Regions from separate parts of the Homo sapiens genome. Here all the other regions are linked to region 3. Evidence: promoter capture Hi-C in 16 types of primary human blood cells and fetal thymus (Javierre and others, 2016). All regions are on one chromosome and are shown on one strand. The core of a region is centred on a gene start or on the middle of the fragment in contact, and the rest is flanking DNA. Distances in the headings are between cores, read along the strand shown. Region 1 has its middle 90 kb from the start of EHD3. Region 2 overlaps EHD3 (EH domain containing 3). Region 3 holds the start of LBH (LBH regulator of Wnt signaling pathway).

What was found. The method cuts DNA at HindIII sites, captures the fragments that hold promoters and counts their contacts. A CHiCAGO score of 5 or more calls a contact.
Region 1: a contact is called between a fragment that was not itself captured here and the fragment with the promoter of LBH in region 3, in 1 of 17 cell types (fetal thymus). The highest score is 8.6, in fetal thymus.
Region 2: a fragment that was not itself captured here is called in contact with the fragment with the promoter of LBH in region 3 in 1 of 17 cell types (naive B cells); the score reaches 5.3 in naive B cells.

The regions. Positions count from the first base shown.
Region 1 is chr2:31,322,476-31,325,239 of GRCh38, reverse strand. No RefSeq gene overlaps it. Among named protein-coding and RNA genes, the nearest start is that of EHD3, 90 kb to the right of the region's middle. The HindIII fragment of the contact is 1,483 bases long and covers 707-2,189 here.
Region 2 is chr2:31,255,729-31,258,580 of GRCh38, reverse strand. The region is part of intron 3 of EHD3 (EH domain containing 3); the gene reads right to left. It overlaps LOC124905983 (a long non-coding RNA gene), which reads left to right. Exons shown (of 4, transcript XR_007086270.1): 2 at 734-925. Among named protein-coding and RNA genes, the nearest start is that of EHD3, 23 kb to the right of the region's middle. RefSeq lists enhancers at 1,412-1,461, 1,547-2,374. The HindIII fragment of the contact is 2,535 bases long and covers 298-2,832 here.
Region 3 is chr2:30,230,115-30,232,814 of GRCh38, reverse strand. It overlaps LBH (LBH regulator of Wnt signaling pathway), which reads right to left and starts at 1,281. Exons shown (of 3, transcript NM_030915.4): 1 at 1,051-1,281. The coding sequence starts at 1,076. RefSeq lists silencers at 282-341, 352-551, 942-1,031, 1,232-1,781 and enhancers at 1,585-2,099, 2,100-2,615. The HindIII fragment of the contact is 3,135 bases long and covers 1-2,700 here.

The DNA of each region.
Region 1 (2,764 bases), core at 199-2,698, 1.1 Mb before region 3:
TCTAATATTTATTCATCTGGGCCCATTTGATCTGGTTTAGCCATTTATCCATTACATGGTGCTTTATTACATGCCAACATTAATTTTTTTATCCCCATACCATTGGATGTTTATGCTGTTTATCATCTTCCCTTTTCAATGTAGCGAACAATTTTGAACATGCCTCCTTCTGCAATGCATGAGAGCTTTCCTCTAAGGCACATAGCCCACACTGGAATTTTGGAGCATACCTTCCCCATTTCTTTATTTTCAACTGTTCGTGTCACGTTTTATTGAGTCTCTAATAAATAATACACATAGTTTGTGTATGGTTTGGCCTCTTATGAATAGCATGCATGATGGACGTGTGTGTTTAAATGCAATCTAAGGATATTTCTCTTTTAACTGGCAAAACAATGTGTTTACATTAATTGTGATTAATAGCCTATTTTGACATTTCTATCATCTCATTTGGTGTGTCACTACTGACCATGTTCTTTCTCTTTTTCTCATTGTCTGCTGTTGGCTTAATCAAGCATCCCTGTCCCCCGACCCTTCCCCTGCCCCACCATTCTCCCCACCTCATTCTTTATATGAGTTTCGTGCTTCTACATCCTATTTCTATTCTTTTAGAAGTCATCTCTGTATTTTTAGCATGCACACTTGATTCAGCAAAGCCTATGTTTAATTAATATTTCTATGTTGTCACCAAACAGGATGAGAAGCTTAGAATGCATTAATTGATTTTCCCCTCTCTTCCTCCGTGTGGCTATAATCAAGTGTTTCAGTTTCACTTTAACACTCTGATTAGTCATTGTTGTTATTCTTGTACAGGCAAATATTTAGTTTTACTCATACGCTTACCTTTGTTTTTCTCGTTATTGCTTTCTTATTCCACTCCCTCCTTCTGGCTTCAATTTCCTTCTTTTAGAAACACACGCTTTCATAGTTTTTCAGCCAGAGTTTGTGAATGGCAAGCTCTGTCTCTTTTTGTTAAAAAAAAAAAAGGCTTTATTTTGCCCTCATTCATAAATGATGATTTTGCTGAATTAGCTGCTATTGATTTAGCTGAGTAGTTATATTTCCCAAACCCTTGGAATGTATTTTTCTGATGCCAGCGTAATTGTCTTTCTTTTGCAGGCACTATCTCTTCTCTGGCTGTTTTTCTTCTGTTAAAGTATTCTATTTTAAGGTGTTCTGTTGTCTAGGCATGGATTAACTTTTTACCTATTATTCTTGGAATTCACCATGCTTCTTTATCCTGAGAACTTGTTTTCAAGTCTGGAAAATTCTAAGCCCTTATTTATTGCAACATTATTTCTCCTCCATTCTCTCTATCCTTTCTTTCCTTAACTTCTAAATAGATTTGTACTGAAACTTCTAATTCTATCCTCCATGTATCTTTAGGCCTCATATTTCTCATCTCTATCTCTGTGGTGCTTTCTGGGTAATTTCCTAGGTCTACATTTCAATTATTTAATGATCTCTTCAACTCTGTCTATTTTCATGTTTAAGTAAATCGAGTTTTTAGTCTTAGTTTCTTTACTTTTATTTTCATACATTCTGATTTTTTTTCACATTCACTTGAGTTAGTACAGACTAGGTTATGCTACAGAAAGAAAATAATCCCAAATTTCCCAATCTCCATGATTGAATACAGCAATAGTTTATTTCTCACTCCTTTGTACCCAGTGGATTTTGGTGGGGTCTGTTCTACACGGTCACTCAGAGACCAAGGACGAAAGAGGCTCCATCATCTAGCAGTTGCACTACCTGGAATATGAGGCTTACTGGGTGTCTGCAACAGGGAAACGGACATCTGGAGGATGTCACATTAGCTATCCTATGGCCAATATTGGAATTAACACGCAGCACCACCTGCCACAGACCACTGGCCAGAACAAGTCATGTAGCTCTACCAAGTGCCAGTGCATGGGGAATTTTGGTAGTGCTTCGTATGTGATGATCGACACTATTTCCTTTTCCATTTATTGTATTTTATCATTGTGTTCTACTCCTTCTTTCATCTCTTTAAAACAAGTAAAATGCTTAGAACAATGCTTACCATGTAGTAAGAACTTCACAGAAGTGTTTTCTAACATTTTAAGTACAATTTATTTTTAACAGATTTTACAAGTTCTCATAGTCTAATTCTTTCCTTCAATGTGGAATATTTATTCACATAGATCATTTTTTTTTCATTATAAGCTTATTCTCAATGAGTGTTCCGTTTCCTGTGGTGAACTTGTGCTCTGTGGGTTGGGGAACGATTCCCTATAGAGCACATGTGTCTTCTGTGCTTTTATTGCCTTTTTATCAGTTCAAAGGTGAGCTTCTACCATGTGTGCTGGGTAAATATAGACCCCACACCTGGAATTTTGATTTTTCATATAAACTTTTTGTTTTCTTTTCTTCCCAAGAACTCTGAGTAGATACAATGCTTTCTTGCTGCTTCCACAGGCTAATGAATAGTTTTTTCTCTCCCCTCTTCATGGGTACTCTACATAGGGTGCTTTCCAACACTACAACCGATTCTCTGATTCTCTGGACACCAGAGTGTCCAACAGTTCAGATCAATTCTGACACTAACTACCTGGAGTTATCACAGACCTCACAGCCTAATGGCTCAGTCTCATAAGACTGCCCCTGCTTCAGTGCCAGGCCTCCTGTACTTCTGGCCAACTGGCTATAAATAGGGGTTCCCATGCCTCTCTCCTCATGTTTGATAGTTTGCCAGGACAGCTCACAGAACTCAGGAATGCACTTTACTTACATTGACCAGCTT
Region 2 (2,852 bases), core at 316-2,815, 1.0 Mb before region 3:
AAGCAATGGGCTGGGACTCAAGTCCAGGAAGGTAGCCCTGGAGTCAGTGCTATGAACCACTGCACCGAGTTGGCTTTCACTTTCAAAGGCTGTCATTTCAGACTAAGTAGCAGGCATCGATGGGGTGGGGGATGAGGATGAATGGAGCCAACGGAGCTAGGTTTAAAAAGCCTTTCCCCCACCCTGTGGCATCTAGTGAACACCCAGTGGGGTACATATTTAGGACGTGTGGAGGCACTGCCACAGGGGGTAGGGGGATGGGATCAGACGGTCGGGAAAACTTGCTGCCCTAAAGCTTCCTGGAGGACCCCTGTAATGTTTCCCTGGTGGCTGTAAGAGAATTCTAACAAACAAAGGAAGGTCAAACCCTCCTTTGGTTACCCGGATGCCAGTACTACTCCATTTTCAGCTCCTCTGTCTTTGGTAAATGAAGTGCTTCCAAGCATTCCCATTGCCATGTGATTTTCTCCAAGATCTGTCAGCTGCTCAATGAATATACAGCTCAACTAACACCTGAGCCTTCTCCCCCTGCTCCTGTGGCGTAGACCTATGAGGCTACGAGGAGCTTAGCCATCAATGGTCCAACTTCCTGATTTACAGATAGGGAAACTGAGGCTCAGGAAGGGGCAGAGCTGGCCCAGTATCTCCAGGTGCCATCCTGAGGATAGTTCCTGATGGGTGCGTCATCGAGGGCCTGGTGTGAACTAGATTTTGCCTTCTCTTTTGAACACAGGTGTCCTGTCTCGGCTCAGAGACAAGGCCCAGGAAAGTGCTTCAGAGGCTGCTCTGCCCAGTGGGCAGGGGCATCATCAACCCTCCCTCGGAGATGTTCACGCAAACTCTAGGAGTTAAGTGACTCAGCCAATACCACCCATGAGACACGACCCCTAGCCTCCAACTCGAAGTTCAGTGCTTGCTGCAGACGGTAAGATGTTCATGTCATTATCTCATGTCACCCTCACGACACGCTCTGAGGCAGGCAGCGCGAGGAGTATCGTTCTCACTTCCAGGGGAGGAAACTGAGGTTCAGAGAGGAGAGAGTCAAACAGTTGGCAAGTCGTGAGGCCAGATGACCCAGCTGTCAGCCATCCAGCCGTTCTGCACCTGGCCGCTCCCTGCCTCCCTCCCTCCCTCCCTGGCACGCAGGCACAGCCAGCTCCTCACTGGAGCCCGGGAAGCCTAAGCATTCCCACTTCAGGTGAAGCCTGCAGCCCGCACTACTCCCCTCCTTCCTACATCCCTCTGTCCATCCTTCCCTTCCCAGGGATGGCTCCAGCCTATTTTTATCTTCCCTTCAGCACAGCGCATGGCAAGGCTGCTGTCACCTCCCAAAGGCAGTCCCTCAGAGCTGTGGGTAGGGAGGGGCCAGAGGGCTAAGAAAATCCCCAACCCCCACCTCTGCAAACAGCTCACAGCAGGAGGGCAGTAGGGACCCTCCACAACTCCCTGCCAGGCCTCTGGCCTTCTGCTGCTCCTTATTCCCCAATCTGGATTTTAGCTGTGCCAGTGCAGGCCACAGGAGGGGCTGCTGGGAGGACCAAGACTGGGCTGCAGCTCCCTCTCACCTGTCCAGCAAATCTCAGCCCCAATATATTGGCTCAATGGCTCAGAACAGGCTAAGGCAGCCAGGGCAGCCAGTGTTGAGTCCTATGCTGACAAGGTAATGGAGGTTTATAGAGGGTGAGAGAAAGGCCCAAGGCCATGCAATGCTGGGGGTCAGAGCCAAGACCTGAACTCCAAACTCAACTCTTGCACTGTAGCCACGCCTCCACCAGGCTGGGGAAAACAAAGACACCAGAGAAGCTGCAGAGAAGGGAAGAGGCTCTGTCCCTGCAACTTGCTGCAATCCCTGATGACACCAGCGATGTAAGAGAAGGCTGTGTCTGCAAAGGCTGAGGGGCAGCAATATGTCCATGCTGCCAGAACAGGATAGACCCCTGCCTATCCCTGTCCCTGCCCTCAGTGGTCTTGTAGCATCATGCACGCTCCTGTTCTGCTCTTCAGCTCACTGAAATCATCCTCGGTGCACTGGGAGCTGGACAGGGCAGGGGCAGCACCTCACCCTTCTGGGCTTCCCCTGCACCCAGCACGGTGTGTGGCACACAGCAGGTGCACTATCAGTATTTGCTGAACGGAAGTGAAACGTGGAAAACGTGGAAACCTGTTCCACGTTTGGCATCTGGGAGACAGTAAATGAGTAATCTCTGGGCCTCAGTTTTATGGTTGAGGAATCAGTGACTCAGTCGTAGGGTTATTGTGAGGATCTAAACAAATCAGAGGATGCAGGTGAAACTGCTGAGCTGTGACCTTGGCTGTTCTCATTGCCCTGCTGTTTTTTGTAAAGCACTCCTTTTAAGCCCTAGTTTCTATGAGATGGGATGTGCTCTGTAGGAGTCACCAGAGGAGCACTGGCCTGGGTGAGTCCACCTCTCGTTTCCGCTTAGCCACTAACTTACTGTGTGTCCTTGGGCAAGAATCTCCCCTCTCTAGTCCTCTGTCTCTTTGCCTGTCAAATCAGGGGATTGAGCTGGACAACCTCCGAGCTTCCTTTCTCGGTTCACAATTCTCTGCATCTGAGACCAGAGGTGTGAGGGTGGGGAGTACAACAGGATGGATGGAGATTAGCTACAAGGGACCCTTTGCAGGCACAGCAAGAGAGAGAGGCTGCAGGCTGCTGTCTTACAGGCCTCGGGGATGCCTGTGTGAAGTCTGCCTCTGCCTGAGGACAGGCCAAGGGCTTCTGGGAACTCTTTCCGTGATTTTATAAGCAGAGGCCTCCTATTTGCTCTGGAAAGCTGCTATCCAATTACAGACTCAGTAATGCCAGAAGCTTCCAGCCAGGTGTGGCTGTG
Region 3 (2,700 bases), core at 32-2,531:
CCTCCAAAGAAAGGAGCCAGAAGAGCGCACGCAGGGTGAAGAGTCTGACGTAGGGGCGGCTCTTCCTCGCTCGGGGCTGTGGCGCCGGCCCGAAAAGTTGAAGCGAGAAGCATGAACTTTCCGCTTCTTGGGCCAGGCCGGACCCCGCCGCGGCTTGCGCCGGTTTTCCCTTCGCTCAGCGCCTGCCGGAGACTCGGGGCCGAGCTCCCCACGTCCGCACCTGAGAGCGCGCTCCGGGGCTGCCGGCGCTCGCCCCCGGCCGCTTCTCCTCTAACCCAGAGCAGGAAGGAAGAAACTGCCAGCAAGGAAGTCCCAGCAGTCAGGGGCCTGCCTCTCTCTGCATCCCTCCCGGCTCCGATCCCCAGTCCGGGGCAAACCTCCGACGCCCCGCGCCCGGCCCGGGCTCCTTCCCCTTCAGCACGGCGAAGGCGGCTCCTCCCAGTCCCGGCCCCCACCAATGTGCGTCGGTTTTTAGGGGCGGTGGAGAGGGCAGGGGTTGAGAGGCTGCAGCGCGTGCCCTGCTGCTTGTGGCTTTAGTGGGGTTACGTGTGGGGAGAGCGTTTCCCGCCCCCCACCCCCCCGGAGCTCTGCAAACCCTGCGGCCGCACCAGCTCAGCCCCGCTGCTGCCGGCCTCGACGTTGAGACTTGCATGCAAACAAAAAGAAAAAGAGGAGGGGCCCGGGAAGAGCAGGAGCCCCCCTGCGCCAAGTGGGGCGCGCGCCTCCTGCAGCTCTCCGCATAGGGTGGTTTCATTGGGGGGGATTCACACGTGACCCCTGGCTCCCCCGCCAACCAATACAAACCCTCCGGCCGTCACTTAGGTGAGGGCTCCGAGTTCACGTCCTTTGTCTGGATGTTCTCAGCACCCCCTCCCCCCACCCCCACCTTTGCAACCTTGACGTTGACTCCTGCACGGGCTCGGGCGGCGGGTTAGCGCTGAGCGCCCGCGCCGCCGGCTGCCCTCGCACCCGGAGCCGGCACGAAGCAGGCGCCCGGGCCCGCAGCCACCGCCGCGAGACAGACGCCCGCCGCAGGCGCAGGGTACTCACCAGTGAATGGGGAAATATATAGACATGAAGTCCTAGGGCAGGCTGACACACGCCCCTGTGATTTAAAAACGGTCCCTGCGTCCCGAGTGAGGATGACACGGGCGCAGACGGGCACGGCAGGCGGCCGAGTGCGGACACCGGGCGCTCGCCGTCCGCCTTCCCAGGACAGCCCCACGGCTAGCGACGTCGGCAAGGTGGACACAACTCCCCGCTCTCCACTGAGCACTCAGCCCCACAAAGAGCCCGGGAAGCCGTATTTATAGGGGCGGGGGCGGGGCTTGGCCCCGAGAGGCCCCGCCCTCCCTCGCCCACTCCTGGAATAACGTCACCAAAATCATGAATGGCTTCAGCGCTCGCAGCTCCGGCGGGCGGCGGCTCGGGGGCGCGCTCGGCTCTGCTCCCGGGGCCGTGGTTCGCTGCGGCTGCGAGCCCGGCCCCCTCCCGCCGCTCTCCCACGCGCACACGCGCTCACTCGCACCGGCCCGGACTCCGCGTCCGCGCCGCTTCCCGCTCACAGCCCCCTCCACGCACACCCCGAACTCCAGCGCGGCGGAGGTGGGCGCAAGGAGGGCGCGGGGGCCGCTCGGGACATGACAGCTCGGCGGCTGCTCTGCGCCGGGGTAGGGCACCCGCCACTCCTCCACCCCAGCCGCCCGGCGCCAGCGCCCTCCTTCCCATCCACTGGCTGTCCCCAGCCCACCTCGGACCCCTCTGAAGCGTTTGTTCCCCATACTAGGCCTCTCTCTGGAATCCTCGCCCGCAGCCTTGCGATCAGCGAGGGGAAACAAGAGCATGGTTAAAGAAGAAGCGGTGGGAAGGTGGCAGAGACGCGGAGCCGGGGGACCGAGTGCCCACGGGGCGCGTTGGCTTGCGAAGGGCTGGTCTGCAGCCCTGAGTTCCGTGGAAGGTTTTATTTGTGGGAGCAAGGATGTGGTGTCGTCCTGGGTAGGATTTTTCCATTGGAGACACACATACGCCCGGTCTGCAGCGGGGGCAGAAGGTGTGGGCGGGCGGTGTGCACGCCGCCCCCCATCCTTGACTCCCACGTCTTCTCCGAGGAGTCGCTCATGACAGCAGAAACAAAGAGCTTTAGCCGAACGCCTCCCACACTGCCCAGGAATTGCAGCTCTGGGCGTCTGTCCAGGCAGTCAAAGCTGCGCAGCCCCCCAGAGCCACATGATGGGAGTCTCACTCGGGACCCAGCGCTGCCGCTCTGTGGCCTCCGCTTCAATCACGCCTGTAAAATGGCTTTAGAACCCTCACCTACCTGTGTATAGGGGCTGAGGAAAGGGGGCGCGGGGAGATCAAAAACTAAGCAAAATTAAATTGGCTTTGAAGTGAATCAGCTTTTTAAAAGAAAGGCAGTGAGTGTATTGAATCCGTATATATGTACTTGAAAGTGGAAACGCATAGCTTATCTCAGGCAAAAGGATGACAGAATTAATGGCGAAGGTTCGACAGGGGTAGGACCCTGAAGGAAGCCGTGAGAGAAGACCCTCATAATTTTCATCAGTCCCCGCAAAACCAGCCCAAACAAAAATTATAAGAATTGATGAGAATAATTTATTTAAAAATAACTGGGCTATTTTCAATCACTTATATGCTTATATGTACAACCTGAGTTAAAATAGTGTGCTTCCTATGAAAACA